2 separate regions of the Homo sapiens genome follow, and region 1 is linked to region 2. The links are contacts of gene promoters, found by promoter capture Hi-C in human tissues and cell types (Jung and others, 2019). All regions are on one chromosome and are shown on one strand. Each heading gives the region's core, a stretch centred on a gene start or on the middle of the fragment in contact. The rest is flanking DNA. Distances are from core to core; before and after follow the strand shown.

Region 1 (7,082 bases), core at 4,318-6,817, 46 kb before region 2:
TCAGAAAATGGGGTTAAGGCCCAGCAATCCTGTGTTTTAACAAATTACTAAAGTGTGACAATCACTGAAACACATTAACATGAGCATGCAAATGCTCATTTGGTCACTGGATGTTTTTAAAATATGTACTGGAAATTTAAATCTTGTCTAGAAAAATATTTTTTTGTTTTCTTGTTTAATTTATCAAATGCTGAGTTAAAGAACTAGGCAAAACTGTAAGCACTGTAATCTGGCCTTAACAATGGAACTGAGAAACTTGAGGCCAGTTGTAATCTTTTGTATTAAGAATCAGAGAAGGCCGGGAGTGGTGGCTTACACCTGTAATCCCAGCACTTTGGGAGGCTGAGGCAGGCGGATCACCTGAGGTCAGGAGTTCGTGACCAGCCTGGCCAACATGGTGAAACCCCGTCTCTACTAAAAATACAAAAATGGGCCAGACATGGTGGCAGGCGCCTGTAATCCCAGCTACTTAGGAGGCTAAGGCAGGAGAATTGCTTGAACCTTGCAGTCAGCTGAGATCATGCCATTGCACTCTAGCCTGGGGGACAAGAGTGAGACTTCCTCTCAAAAGAAAAAAAAAATCAGAGAAAACGGATGCTAAATACCCAAAAATATGCAAATATTCCCAAAATATGAACCAGGACAAGCAATTAAGAAGATTACGTATTTCTCCACTTGGTAAACTTTAAAAATGTATAACTGGAGTTATGAGTGTTATGGAAGGAGCAAATAAGCAAAGCATATGGTAATCAATCCTATGGTCTTAAGTAAATAATCTCTGGGCCAGAGTTCCAACTGATGTGCTAGGACAATGTTCCATGAATACATTACAAGTATTCATGTTCCATGAATATGTTACAGGTATTAATAGTCATTGATTCTCTCAGTACTGCAAATTGCTAGGCACAGCCTGGGAAGACCAAAACACCTAGGGCTGGTTGCAACCAGTGAAGAGTAGCTTTGTCCACTTGCCTCTCTGCACTATACAAATACTATGTTATCATTTTCCAATTATGCCTTCATGTGGGGCAAAAAAAAAAAAAAAAAAAGGAGGAAGCACTTTTCTAGCCATTTCTGCTAATTCAGTGAGTAGGGTACTTCCTGTTTCAAATATAGAAAACACAACTTAAGCTGACTTTAAGACAAAAAGTAAATGTATTGGCTTATTTGACTAAAAAGTCTAAAATTAAGTTTGACTTCAGGCCAGTAATGTGACCAGCACCTGGATTGTTATCTTTTAATGTTTGCCTATGCTACCTCAATATTGGCTACATTCTCAATAGGCTGTCAATTCATAATGCCAAAAGGCTATAGGCAGCTACTGGGGCTAAATACTTCCTTGTATCTTTTTCCACCAAGAAAAGGAGAGTTTGTGTCCTGACAAGAGTCCTAAAGTTCCCATTTAGGCCTACTTGGATTACCTTCCCATTCCTGAACCAATTAATAAGCTTAGGAGAATGACAGACGCACAGTTCAACAAGAGTAATCTTTGGAGCTAGAAGTGAGGTCAATCCAGGTTAATCTCAAAAATATCACATGCCTGAGAAAGTGAGAAGGACTACTTAAGGAAATGTGAGGTACTGTTATCAGGAAAAGGGAAGAAGGTATACAGGTTAATAAACAAGAGCTTTCCATAACAGCTTACCATACATCTCTAAATGAGCTAAAATACAAAATAAAAATAATCACTTTTTTCTTTGGATTAAAAGTGAACACCTCAATGGTAATCTAAAAAAAGTATATGTTAAAATAACACGAGGTTGGGTGCAGTAACTCACGCCTGTAACCTCAGCACTTTGGGAGGCCGAGGCAGGCAGATCACTTGAGGCCAGGAGTTCGAAACGAACCTGGTCAACATGGTGAAACCCCATCTCTACTAAAAATACAAAAATTAGCTAGGTATGATGGCACATGCCTGTAATCTCAGCTACAAGGGAGGCTGAGGCATGAGAATCACTCGAACCCAGGAGGCAGAGGTTGCAGTGAGCCAAGATTGCACGACTGCACTCCAGCCTGGGCAACACAGGAAGGCTCTGTCTCAAAAAATAATAATAATAAATAAATAAATAAAATAACATATTTACCTATAAAATTAGCCGAAGTTTTTTAAAAATAAGAGTACTGTGCTAGTAAAAAGAAAAAAAATTGTAAAAGAGGCATTCAAATAGTTCTGGTAGACATGTAAATGGAAGCAATCCTTTCAAAAAACAATTTAGAATGTCTCAAAAGTCATACACTATTCTATGCTGACTCAACTTCTAAGAATCTATTCAAAAGAAAAAAATCCTAGATGCAGAAAAAGTTTTATGTTAACGGATGTTTACAACAAAATATTTACTAATAAAAAACAAGAAAGAAAAGTTGGAAACAACCTAAATGTTCAGTAATAGAAAAATAGCCAATTAAGTTATCACTATCTAATTGAATATATGTAGCCACTTAAATAATAACGGCTAATGTTTGTTGAGCACTTAATACGTGCAAAACTATCTTCTAACACTTCATATTTAGTTCTCCAAACAACTTTATGAGATGTTTACTGTTACCATTTTCATTTCTAAATGAGAAAGCTAAGGCATAGAGAGATTAAGTAACTTGCCCAAGGATATACAGGAAGGTGGAACCAGGACATGAACCCAGCAATCTGGTTCCAGGGTTGTACTCTTAACCACTATATTATAGTGCCTCTCAAAAGTTTGTGCCCAGCCTGGGCAACATGGCAAGACCCCATCTCTACAAAAAGTTTTAAAAGTTACCCAGGTGTGGTGGTGCATGCCTGCAGTCCCAGCTACTTGGGAGGCTGAGGTAGGAGGATTGCTTGAGCCCAGAAGGCGGACGTTGCAGTGAGCCAAGATCATGCCACTGCATTCCAGCCTGGGCAACACAGTGAGACCCTGTCTCAAAAGAAAAAGTGTTTGTGGAGTTTATAACAAAAATATTTATGTTAACACTTTGTTAGAAACATCAATAATAATAAAAACAGGACTCAGAGTCTTCTAATTAAAGATAGTGGATTGAACAGTGGTATTTAGTTCCACTCCACTAAAATGACAGTGGTGATTTAAGGCATAAGCCTTAGAACAAACAGAATGGTATCTAAGACAAAAACAATAAAACTCTGTTTTTTGGCAGACAGATAAAAAAGTAGAAATCTTTATTGCACCTGAGAAAGCTAGGAAAACTGAGAAGCAATTTGATTTACATCACTCTCTCCTCTTTCTCCCCTCCCCTGCCAACAGAGTCTGCTGATACCAGGTACCTCTAAAGGTGAAGGTAAAGGTGAAGCCAAAAACAGGATGATTACTTGAAAGTGTGTTTAAGAAGACCCACAGATTCCCTCTCTCTTTCTGGTTAGGCAGAACCCTCTCTGACCTGGGCAGAAGATTGGAAGTTGTTCTGATGATGACAAAACTGAGCCTCTGGAATGGGTTTATTGGGATACCAGGTGCAGTTGAGAAAGGGTCAGGGGTGGCTACTATATGGAAAAATGTGTATATTAAATGTTGAGATACCCACCAGTCTTTCTTCTCCACAGCTCCAATAGCTGCTAACAGCCAGATAGCTCTTGAGGCAGCAGATTGGAAGGAAGTGTGTGTTTTCTAAGGCAGAAGTCCCCATCCCCCAGGCCACAAACTGATACTGGTCCGTGGCCTGTTAGGAACACCCCAGGCCACGCAGCAGGAGGTGAGCGATGGCACGAGAGCAAGTGAAGCTTCATCTGTATTTACAGCCACTCCCCATTGTTCGCATTTCCACCTGAGCTGCCTCCTGTCAGATCAGGGGCAGCATTAGATTCTCATAGGAGTACAAACCCTGTTGTGAACTGTGCATGAGAGGGATCTAGGTTGCATGCTCCTTATGAGAATCTAATGCATGATGATCTGTCACTGTCTCCCATCACCCCCAGATGGGACAGCATAGTTGCAGGAAAACAAGTTCAGGGCTCCCACTGACTCTACATTATGGTGAGTTGTATAATTATTTCATTACATATCACAATGTAAAAATAATAGAAATAAAGTGCACAATAAGTTGTAATGTGCCTGAATCATCCTGAAACCATCTTCCCCCAGCCCCAGTCTGTGGAAAAATTGTCTTCCACAAAACCAGTCCCTGGTGCCAAAAAGTTGGGGACCACTGTTCTAGGGAATTTGACCAGGCTAAGAGAAAAGACACAAATAATATGATAACAGGAGTTTCCTCACAAAATGTTCTAGTCAGGTAACCCTAAGATGAAGACCATAGTCAATAGGCTATATCCATGCATACATAACCTCCAATTCACTTTCTGGTGCCCCATTCTTAAATACAGAGCAAAGAGTGAAAAACCAATAGACTTTTAAGGGAAAGTGTCTAATTTAAAAGACAAAGATTAAAACAAACTGAAATTTTAAAAGCCAATTCAGAGGAAGCAAACATTAAGCAAAGGAAACTCTTTCAAAAGAAATATTACTAACACTCTTTTAAAAATTATTTTCTTATCCATAGTGTTCAGTACAGCATCAACTTTCTTATGAAGAGATGAGTGTATATTACATTGATGAAAAAAAAGATGCTTCACAGAAACAGTTCTTATAAAAATTAAGATAGTGGAAATGAAAAATCCAATAAAAGGATTAGAAGACAAAGTTAAAGAAGTCTTGCAAAAAGAAGCAAAAAACCAAAGAAATAGAAAATTGAAGAAACAAAGATTAGAAAATTAGAGGATTAATCCAGAAGTCCCAATAACTGTACCCTAAAAGTCCCAGAAAGAGTGAACAAAGAAATTGGAGAAGAAATCATCAAAAAGTTTCTAAATCAATTTTCCCAGAATTAAAAAATATAACTTCACATATTAAAAGAACCCATCAAGTGCCAGCACCAAGACACATCATTGGTGAAATAACAGAACACTAGAGGAAATGAAAAGATCCTATATGCTTCCAGAAAGGAAAAAAAAAATCATAAAAAAGATCAAGAATTACACTGGAATTTTCAATATCCATAATGGAAGCTAGAATAAAGAAACTAAGCCCTCAGTTTAAAGGGAAAATGATTACCAGATTGGAATTTTAACAGCCATGTCAACAGTGAAGATAGAAGATATTTTCAGATATGCAGTATCCAAAACAATTTACCTTCTATGCACCCTTTCTCAGGAAGCTCCTTAAGGATTTCTTTAAGGAAGAGAAAGGCATGGGATCCAGGAAACAGCGGATCCTTGTCTTAATCTGTTCAGATGACTATAACAAAATATCAGACCAGGTGGCTTATAAATAACAGAAATTTATTTCTCGCAGTTCTGGAAGCTGGGGAGTCCTAGATCAAAGTGCTAGCAGATTCAGTGTCTGGTGAGGTCCTGCTTCCTGTGTCCTCACATGGTGGAAGGGGTGAGGAAACTCTCTGAGGCATTTTTATTTTATTTTTATTTTTTTTTCCTGGGGTCTTTTCATAAGGGTGCTAATCCCATTCAAGAGGACTCTGCCTTCATGACCTAATCACCTCCCAAAGGCCCCACCAAATACTACCACACTGGGGATTAGGTTTCAACGTATGAATTTGGGGGAGACACAAATATTTATTCTATAGCAATCTTGCATAGGCAAGAAAGAGAGGAAAGGAACCCTAGCACGGTGGAGGACAGCAAGAGGACACCTGTACGAAGACAGAGAGCAACCAGTCCAGATTAAAGTGGTTTAATAGGCTCTGGCAGCAACTTCCTCAACACAATGGTATTAATAGATTATCAACTGTTTTTAAGTTACTCATAAAAGTTTTAGGTAACTGAGAGAAGTCTGGGGTTGAATTAGTAATTAATACATTAAAAAGAAAGCAGGCCAGCCACAGTGGCCCACGCCTATAATCTCAGCACTTTGGGAGGCCAAGGTGGGCAGATCACCTAAGGTCGGGAGTTCAAGACCAGCCTGACCAACATGGAGAAACCCCGTCTCTACTAAAAGATACAAAATTAGCCGGGCGTCGTGGTGCATGCCTGTAATCCCAGCTACTCAAGAGGCTGAGGCAGGAGAATCGCTTGAACCTGGGAGGCAGAGTTTTGGTGAGCCAAGATCGCGCCACTGCACTCCAGCCTAAGCAACAAGAGTGAAAGTCCGTCTCAAAAAAAAAAAAGAAAGCAATGGGGAAAAATAAGACAATCCAAGGTGGTAAGGAAAAATAATCACAGAATATTACAATAGTTCAGCTGTGAACCACATTTATGATTATGTTATTACTCTGCTGATATAATAAAAAGTATGCTACAACCGTTTATGGAGGATGTGAAGAAGGAGAAGTTAGAGCAAAAGACAAAAGAAAGTTAAATCCTTAGTTTCCATCATGGGAAGGCATTAGATAATGGGTAAAACTGGAAAATCAAGAAGTATCATTTACAAACATACTATTTAAAGATATGGAAGTAAATGTCTAAAGTATCAGCTAAAATAGCTTGAAGTAATTGCTCTGAAAAGGAAGAAATGGCAGGAGAGATCTTTTTCTGAACAAACTTTATTTTAAGAAAAGTATAAATGATTTTGTCCTCTTCATTCTCCTTTTCTATAAGCAGTGTAAATAACATATAATGGAGGAGTAAATTTTATTGTATATGTTTTAAGTTGGTACAGAACCCTTAGACTAAGATATATGAAATCAGTTTAGTTTCTTATAATGATAGAACAGAACAGGCTGGGCACGGTGGCTCATGCCTGTAATCCCAGCACTTTGGGATGCCAAGGCAGGCGGATCATTTGAGGTCAGGAGTTCGAGACCAGCCTGGCCAACACGGTGAAACCCCATCTCTACTAAAAATTAGACAGGCGTGGTGGTGGGCGCCTGTAATCCCAGCTACTTGGGAGGCTGAGGCAGGAGAATCACTTGAACCCGGGAGGTAGAGGTTGCAGTGAGCTGAGACAGCGCTACTATACTCCAGCCTGGGCAAAAAAGCAAGACTCCATCTCAGGAAAAAAAAAGAACAGAACAGTGTAGATTAAACTAGAATAGACCAGCAATCTCCTCACATATGGTAAGTTTTATAAAACTCTTGTTTTAATTTTATGTAAATGTAAATACATATAAGTATACCAGATTACAATGTGAAATGTATTTCT
Region 2 (6,641 bases), core at 4,053-6,552:
TAAGCAGCAAAAATACAAACATGGGTAAATGTTGCTCCTTGGCTCTCAAGGGACTGTCAGGATTGAAGTGTCCAGGCTGGGTAAGGAACATCCATAAACTTTACTAAAGCCATTAGTAAGCATCAGTAAAAGAAACCACGCTTTAAAATCCATATTTTATACTTCAAAACTCAGTTAAGCCTGGTGCCGTGGCTCATGCCTGTAATCCCAGCACTTTGGGAGGTCAAGGCGGGAAGATCCCTTGAACCCAGGAATTCCAGACCAGCCTGAGCAACATGGCAAAACCCCTGTCTCTACAAACAATACAAAAATTAGCCAGGCATGATGGCATGTGCCTGAGGTCCCAGCTACTCTGAAGGCTGAGGCAGAAGGATCGCTGGAGCCCAGGAGGTTGAGGCTGCAGTGAGCTGTGAAACTGCCACTGCACTCCAGCCTGGGCAATAGAGTGAGACCCTGTCTCCAGAAAAGCGAAACAAAACAAAACTCTCAGTTTACACTTCATTCAAGAGTGTCAAGCCAGGGCGGTACATAAAATAACAAAGGAGAATCCTTCACCAAAGGAGGATAAACAGATCCTGGTTGGTATATTTCCTAATAGAACTTCCATGTAATGTGTGTCTTTCAGTACCGACAACATTAACACTTCATTATCATCTTTTTCTGATGCAGACTTTTTTTTTTTTTTTTTTTTTTTTTAGATTGAGTTTTGTTCTTGTTGCCCAGGCTGGAGTGCAATGGCACCATCTCGGCTCATCGCAACCTCCACCTTCTGGGTTCAAGCGATTCTGCTACCTCAGTCTCCCAAGTAGATAGGATTACAGACATGCACCACCACACCTGGCTAATTTTGTATTTTTAGTAGAGATGGGGTTTCTCCATGTTGGTCAGGCTGGTCTCGAACTCCCGACTTCAGGTGATCCACCTGCCTCAGCCTCCCAAAGTGCTGGGATTACAGGCGTGAGCGCTTGGCCTCTGATGCAGAATTAACAAATGATTCTTAAACACCGTCAATTGCATAGCTAGAAATGCCTAATTTGTTTAAACTCCTTTTTCACATGTGTTTGGAAAGTATAGTTTTGCAACTGATGCCAAATAATCTTTGCTTAGAATATCATGATCACTTGAATATGAGTTCACAAAAAAAAGGCCAAAAATTGTGTGGCAATCAGAAAGTAAGACTATGATGAGAAAATAAGGCTGATAAGTGTACAATAGGTGTAAAAATGCCAACATCAGTACACAGAGTGACAGTTCTGTGGCCAGCCATGACACAAGTCCCTGTCATAGGTCCCTGGGGGCAGCTCCGGTGCGCTCTAAGAGCTATAAAGATTAATATATTTTAAACATGACACGTAGGCCTTATTACTACTCACAGTGTGACATGAAATCAGATGACCCCTCACACTGTTCTTTTATTTAACTTTTTTGTTATTAACAATCATTGTTCTTAAATAGTAGAATTAAAGTTCTGTTCAAAAGTGTCCTTAAAGGGCTTTAAGCAAATGTTTAAAATAAAATTCTTAACCCCTTTACTGATTTGTTGAATCTGAAAATACCTGCATGTAGATATATAATCAACCTGGAACAGTAGGAGTCTTTCATTTCTCACTTGCTGACTATACTGAGATAAACTAAAACAGCAAACAATTGATGTTGAAATGTCAAGGCTAAAATGTCACGGCAACAGCAAGTTTAATAAAGTTGCATCTCTTCAAGAGGCTAATGATAGTCATCGATGTGCCTTTAAGGATGTGGAGGTGACTTTACTTACAGAGCTTCATGGCTGCAATCTTAACATCTCCTGTCACAGTCCTTGAGTCCATCCTCATGCCCACACAGTAAAGTGAGTTTTCATTTCATTCTTGAATTCACACAGGTAAGTGGGCGGGTATGTGCTCAAATTCAGAGATGCATTATCACATTAATCCAAGTCCATTAATCTCATTGCTCCAATTTTTTTTCTTATTCCCTCTGAACTAAATAATTCTTTACCTACTGCCCTTTATTGCTTGATAATAACTCAAAAAAAAAAAAACAAAAAAAAAAACCCAGAGTCAAGAACCAAGCTACTACTTGGCCGATGACTATTCATTTACTTCATGCTTCAATATCCCTCTTTGTAAAATGAGAATTATAATATCTAGCCCAACTCCACAGATAGCCAGTATAAGAAAAATACCATCTGTGAGAACACTTAAAATGCTTTGGAAGAAAGGCATAAGAATATTATAACATTATTATTATTATAATTATTGAGATGGAGTTTCACTCTTGTTGCCCAGGCTGGAGGGCAATGGCGCGATCTCGGCTCACTGCAACCTCTGCCTCCTGGGTTCAAGCGATTCTCCCGCCTCAGCCTCCCGAGTAGCTGGACTTACAGGTGCCTGCCACCATGCCTGGCTAATTTTTTTTTGTATTTTTAGTAGAGACGGGGTTTCACTGTGTTGGCCAGGCTGGTCTCAAACTGCTGACCTCATGATCTGCCCGCCTAGGCCTCCCAAAGTGCTGAGGTTACAGGTGTGAGCCACCGTGCCCGACCAAGAATATTATAACTTTAAATAGCAGATGGCACAAAATAAAATTAATACAGCAAGGAAATAATAGAAGAAATCAGCTCTCTTGGGCATTGTTGTTACTGGCTTTTCTCATTTCTCTCTTTGCCATCTAACCTCAAAATATCTTGCAGCTCCGTAGTGACTGAAGTTTGTGTGCATGCTGCCAAATGCTGTAACATTCTCTAGGACTCAATGTTACAGGGAAACACACAGGGATGTAATTCACTACTGAGAAACAGACTTCATTTCTCTGTCTGCCTCCCTCTCTGTCTATAAACTCTGATATTTGATGTCAGCACAAGGCCTCATTTGTTTTGGTCCAAATATCCAGATATGTGGGCAGACTCATTTTACCAAGGAATGTCATCAAAGTTCACAACTGCTGATTCCATAGCATGAGGCATTTGACCATTGGCCTCTCCCCAAAGTAGTGGGAAATGAAGCACTTTTCCTACCTGAAGATAAATTGCTTCCACTCCATGAAAATGTATTCAGCACGAACAATGTAGAAAGCACTCCCCTGGGTACTGTCGAGAATGCAAAAATGAATAAGTCAGTTCTTGCACTTGATAAGAACTTTACAGGCCCACATTCTCAGATATAGGTCTCAGTCAGATTAAGTTCTCCTCCACAACAGAAGCTGTGGTGTCCATCTCCCCACCAGGAGGTCTCAGTGCTGTAGGTTGACTCAATGAATAAACAGGAAAATGGGTGTTCTAGTGAAAATGTTTCCTATTCTTGTGTTCAACCACAATAAACCATGTCTGGCCTCTTCATAGTCTGATCCCAATTGCTTGAATAAGAGGGAAAGAAGAATCCATCATAGAAATAGTTTAGACCACGAGGTAGACAAATGGAAAGTGAAGAGGAAGGGATTGGAAGAAGGGAAAGGAAAAGCACTGCCTAGAAGGAATCAGTGAAAACAAAATTTCTGCAGAAAACTTAGGAATAATTCAGTTGATTATCAATAATAATAATAAAATAGACAATATCCTTTGGGAGGAGAAAAACAGAATTTGGTAAAAATTGAATTAGTCAAAAATTTGAGGCCGGGCACAGTGGCTCATGCCTGTAATCCCAGCACTTTGGGAGGCCGAGGTAGGTGGATCACCTGAGGTCAGGAGTTTGAGAACAACCTGGCCAACATGGTGAAAACCCCTCTCTCCTAAATGTACAAAAAATTAGCCGGGCGTGGTGGTGGATGCCTGTAATCCCAGCTACTCGGAAGGCTGAGGCAGGAGAATCGCTTGAACCCAGGAGGCGAAGGTTACAGTAAGCCAAGATTGTGCCACTGTACTCCAGCCTGGGTGACAGAGCAAGACTCTGTCTCAAGAAAAAAAAAAAAAAAATGAAGGGGGAAAAAATGTTTCCCTTGGTCCCCAGCAAGTGCCAGACCACTTCGACCAAAGCATAAATAGTGTTTCAAAGAACTGTTAAGCACGTTCTTTGGATAAAGAAGGATGTGACCATCACCTGGCATAGGTACTCTGTCCACCTGCTGCCTTCATTACTTGATGCAGCAGTTTTTGAAGTCTTTAATCAAGACCTTTTTACGCTCTTTTACATTATCAAGGACCCCAAAGAGCTTTCACTTATGTGAATTTTATCTAATGATATTTATTATCTAACATTAAAACTGAGAAATTTTCAAAATATTATTTGAAATCAAGACAACAAAGCTTACTTTTTGTTATGTTTATGCATAGACTCAAGGAAAAGATCAAGATTTCAAGATAATTACTTCAGAAAAATGAGGTTATAGCTATCCTAGTAGATATGAACAAATAGAACTAATCAAAGTACAAAAGCAGTAGCCAAGAGAGTTGGTGGACACCTGTAGTCCCAGCTACTCTGGAGGATGAGACAGGAGGATCTCTTGAGCCCAGGAGTTCCTGGGCAACAAAGTGAGACCCCCTACTCTGAAAAAGAAAAAAGGAAAGAAAAAAAATTAAGTTCACAAGTACTGAGAACAAATTTTATTAATCTCTATAAATCTACATAAATCTCTATAAAATGTACATACTGATAATGTAAACATACTACTATGGAAAATACCAGAAAATACAAGCACGCTCACTCAGGTATTCTATTAGGAGACAGAATGATGACGTTATTACACTTCAAATAGCCCCTGGAAATTTCCACTGTACACTCTTGAGAGAATGAAAGTGAAAATGGCAAATCATTTATTGTTACTATAATGGAAATAGTTTTGCCCTCAGAGACCCCTGGAAAAGATCTTGGAGACATCCCAGACCTGGCGGACCACCATTGGAGAACCAATGTAATCAATTACTTGTAAGGTCATTTCCATTTCTTATCACGAATAAAGGGTATTTTGTCTGATGAATATCTTGTCCTCGTCCCCGGACCACCCTTTTGAGAACAGTTGACCTAAGGTAACCACAGGACTCCTGGCCCAGTGGGACCCAAAGCGAAAAGCCCTGGACGCGCCGAGGGCGCTCTGCTTAAGACTGAGAACCGAAATGCTTCCTGAATTAGGATCATTGAGAACGCCGAGTGCAGACACAAATCGAAAAGCAGCCACCCGCGCCGCCAAGGCGGGGCCAGAACTGGCGGCAGGCGGCTGGCCCGCCCGGGGATGGGGCAGAAGCTGGGGCGGCTGAGAGCGCAGCGCGGGCTCCCGGGAGACGCCGGCCCACTGCCCGCCCGCTCGCCGCAGGTAGGCCCGGCCCCCGGGAGGTGGGGCGCGGCCAGGTGTCCCCAGGTAGCCGCCTCCTCCCGTCCTCCGTCGGCCGCCTCCCCGGACCGAGGCAGGACCTCACCCCGCGCGTGTTCCCCGGGCGCCCCTCTGCGAACCCCAGGCCCTTCCCAGGTTTGCGCGCGGGGGCCATCCAGACCCTGCGGAGAGCGAGGCCCGGAGCGTCGCCGAGGTTTGAGGGCGCCGGAGACCGAGGGCCTGGCGGCCGAAGGAACCGCCCCAAGAAGAGCCTCTGGCCCGGGGGCTGCTGGAACATGTGCGGGGGGACACAGGTACGAGGCCTGGCGGCAGGACCTCGGCGGGGAGGGGGTTACCTGGAAGGGGCCACCTCGGCGGACTGGGTTGGATTCGAACACATAGCGAGGGTTGCCCGCGGCGACAGGTGCCCGATCAGCCCTCGGCAGGGTCACTGGGCACGGCGTTTGTCCCAGGCGCTCTCAGGGGCTGCTTCCTGGGCGCGCGTCGGGTTCCGGCGACCGAAACCGCGCGCCGGGCGCTCTTGCGCCTAGGCTTTGAGTACAACAGGTTGGTGATTCAGTTCGACAGAAACTCAAAGTGCTGAGCTAGGGGCCTTTTTTTTTTAATATTTTTTTTTGTTTGTTTTAGTTTGTTTGACAGTTGCCAGACTATGTTTACGCTTCTGGTTCTACTCAGCCAACTGCCCACAGTTACCCTGGGGTTTCCTCATTGCGCAAGAGGTCCAAAGGCTTCTAAGCATGCGGGAGAAGAAGGTAAGCACTAAAACGTCCCTGGAACCCAGAGCCGCATAGCACAGATCTCAGTGAGAAAGTGCAGTATTTGAAATTACATACCCCCAGCAATCATAGAAACACTAAAATATCCTTTAGTTTAATTTGTGGCATATTTGGCAAGGTTGTGTTTTTTTATGTTCTTTAACTGCAATTTATAGAATTTGATGTCTGTGAGTCTCCTTTAATAAGTATATACGTAAGACCTAGTTTGTGGTTAATTGAATGGAAAACCTATTTCAGCTTCTGAAAATCAGTGAGTGACATTTCTCTAGATGAAGCTGTGTGGCGATTATAATAAGCATAATTACTTGTTCTTCCTGGAGAGGCGAACGGGGAGTCCAGGATCTAGTCTGGACTTGCGAGACCCTGGGCGAGATAACTTAATCCCGTTTGGCTTGAATGTCTTCATCTGTAAAAGTGATGCGGGTGGGGCGTAAAATGATCTCTGAGGTCCTTTTTGACTTCAGATGGTCTAGTTGTCTAGATAAAAGCAGCTAGTTGAGAAAAGATTAGGTTTGGGGCTTGCTAACCTGGAAGTCCACAGTTTTTAGGTTTCAGATCATTAACAGTTTGTTTCCTGCCTATATCTTAAAAGCCTAACCTAGTAAAACC

Evidence for each region. The method cuts DNA at HindIII sites, captures the fragments that hold promoters and counts their contacts. A contact is called where the count stands out against the background at its distance.
Region 1: a fragment that was not itself captured here is called in contact with the fragment with the promoter of PRRG4 in region 2 in 1 of the 25 tissues and cell types used here (adrenal gland).

What each region holds. Positions count from the first base shown.
Region 1 is chr11:32,778,234-32,785,315 of GRCh38, forward strand. All of the region lies in intron 1 of CCDC73 (coiled-coil domain containing 73), which reads right to left. Among named protein-coding and RNA genes, the nearest start is that of CCDC73, 13 kb to the right of the region's middle. The HindIII fragment of the contact is 5,975 bases long and covers 2,581-7,082 here.
Region 2 is chr11:32,824,625-32,831,265 of GRCh38, forward strand. It overlaps PRRG4 (proline rich and Gla domain 4), which reads left to right and starts at 5,303. Exons shown (of 6, transcript NM_024081.6): 1 at 5,303-5,549; 2 at 5,884-6,008. The coding sequence starts at 5,906. It also overlaps a transcript of CCDC73 not described here. RefSeq lists a silencer at 5,080-5,459 and enhancers at 5,880-5,929, 5,940-5,999. The HindIII fragment of the contact is 15,759 bases long and covers 1-6,641 here.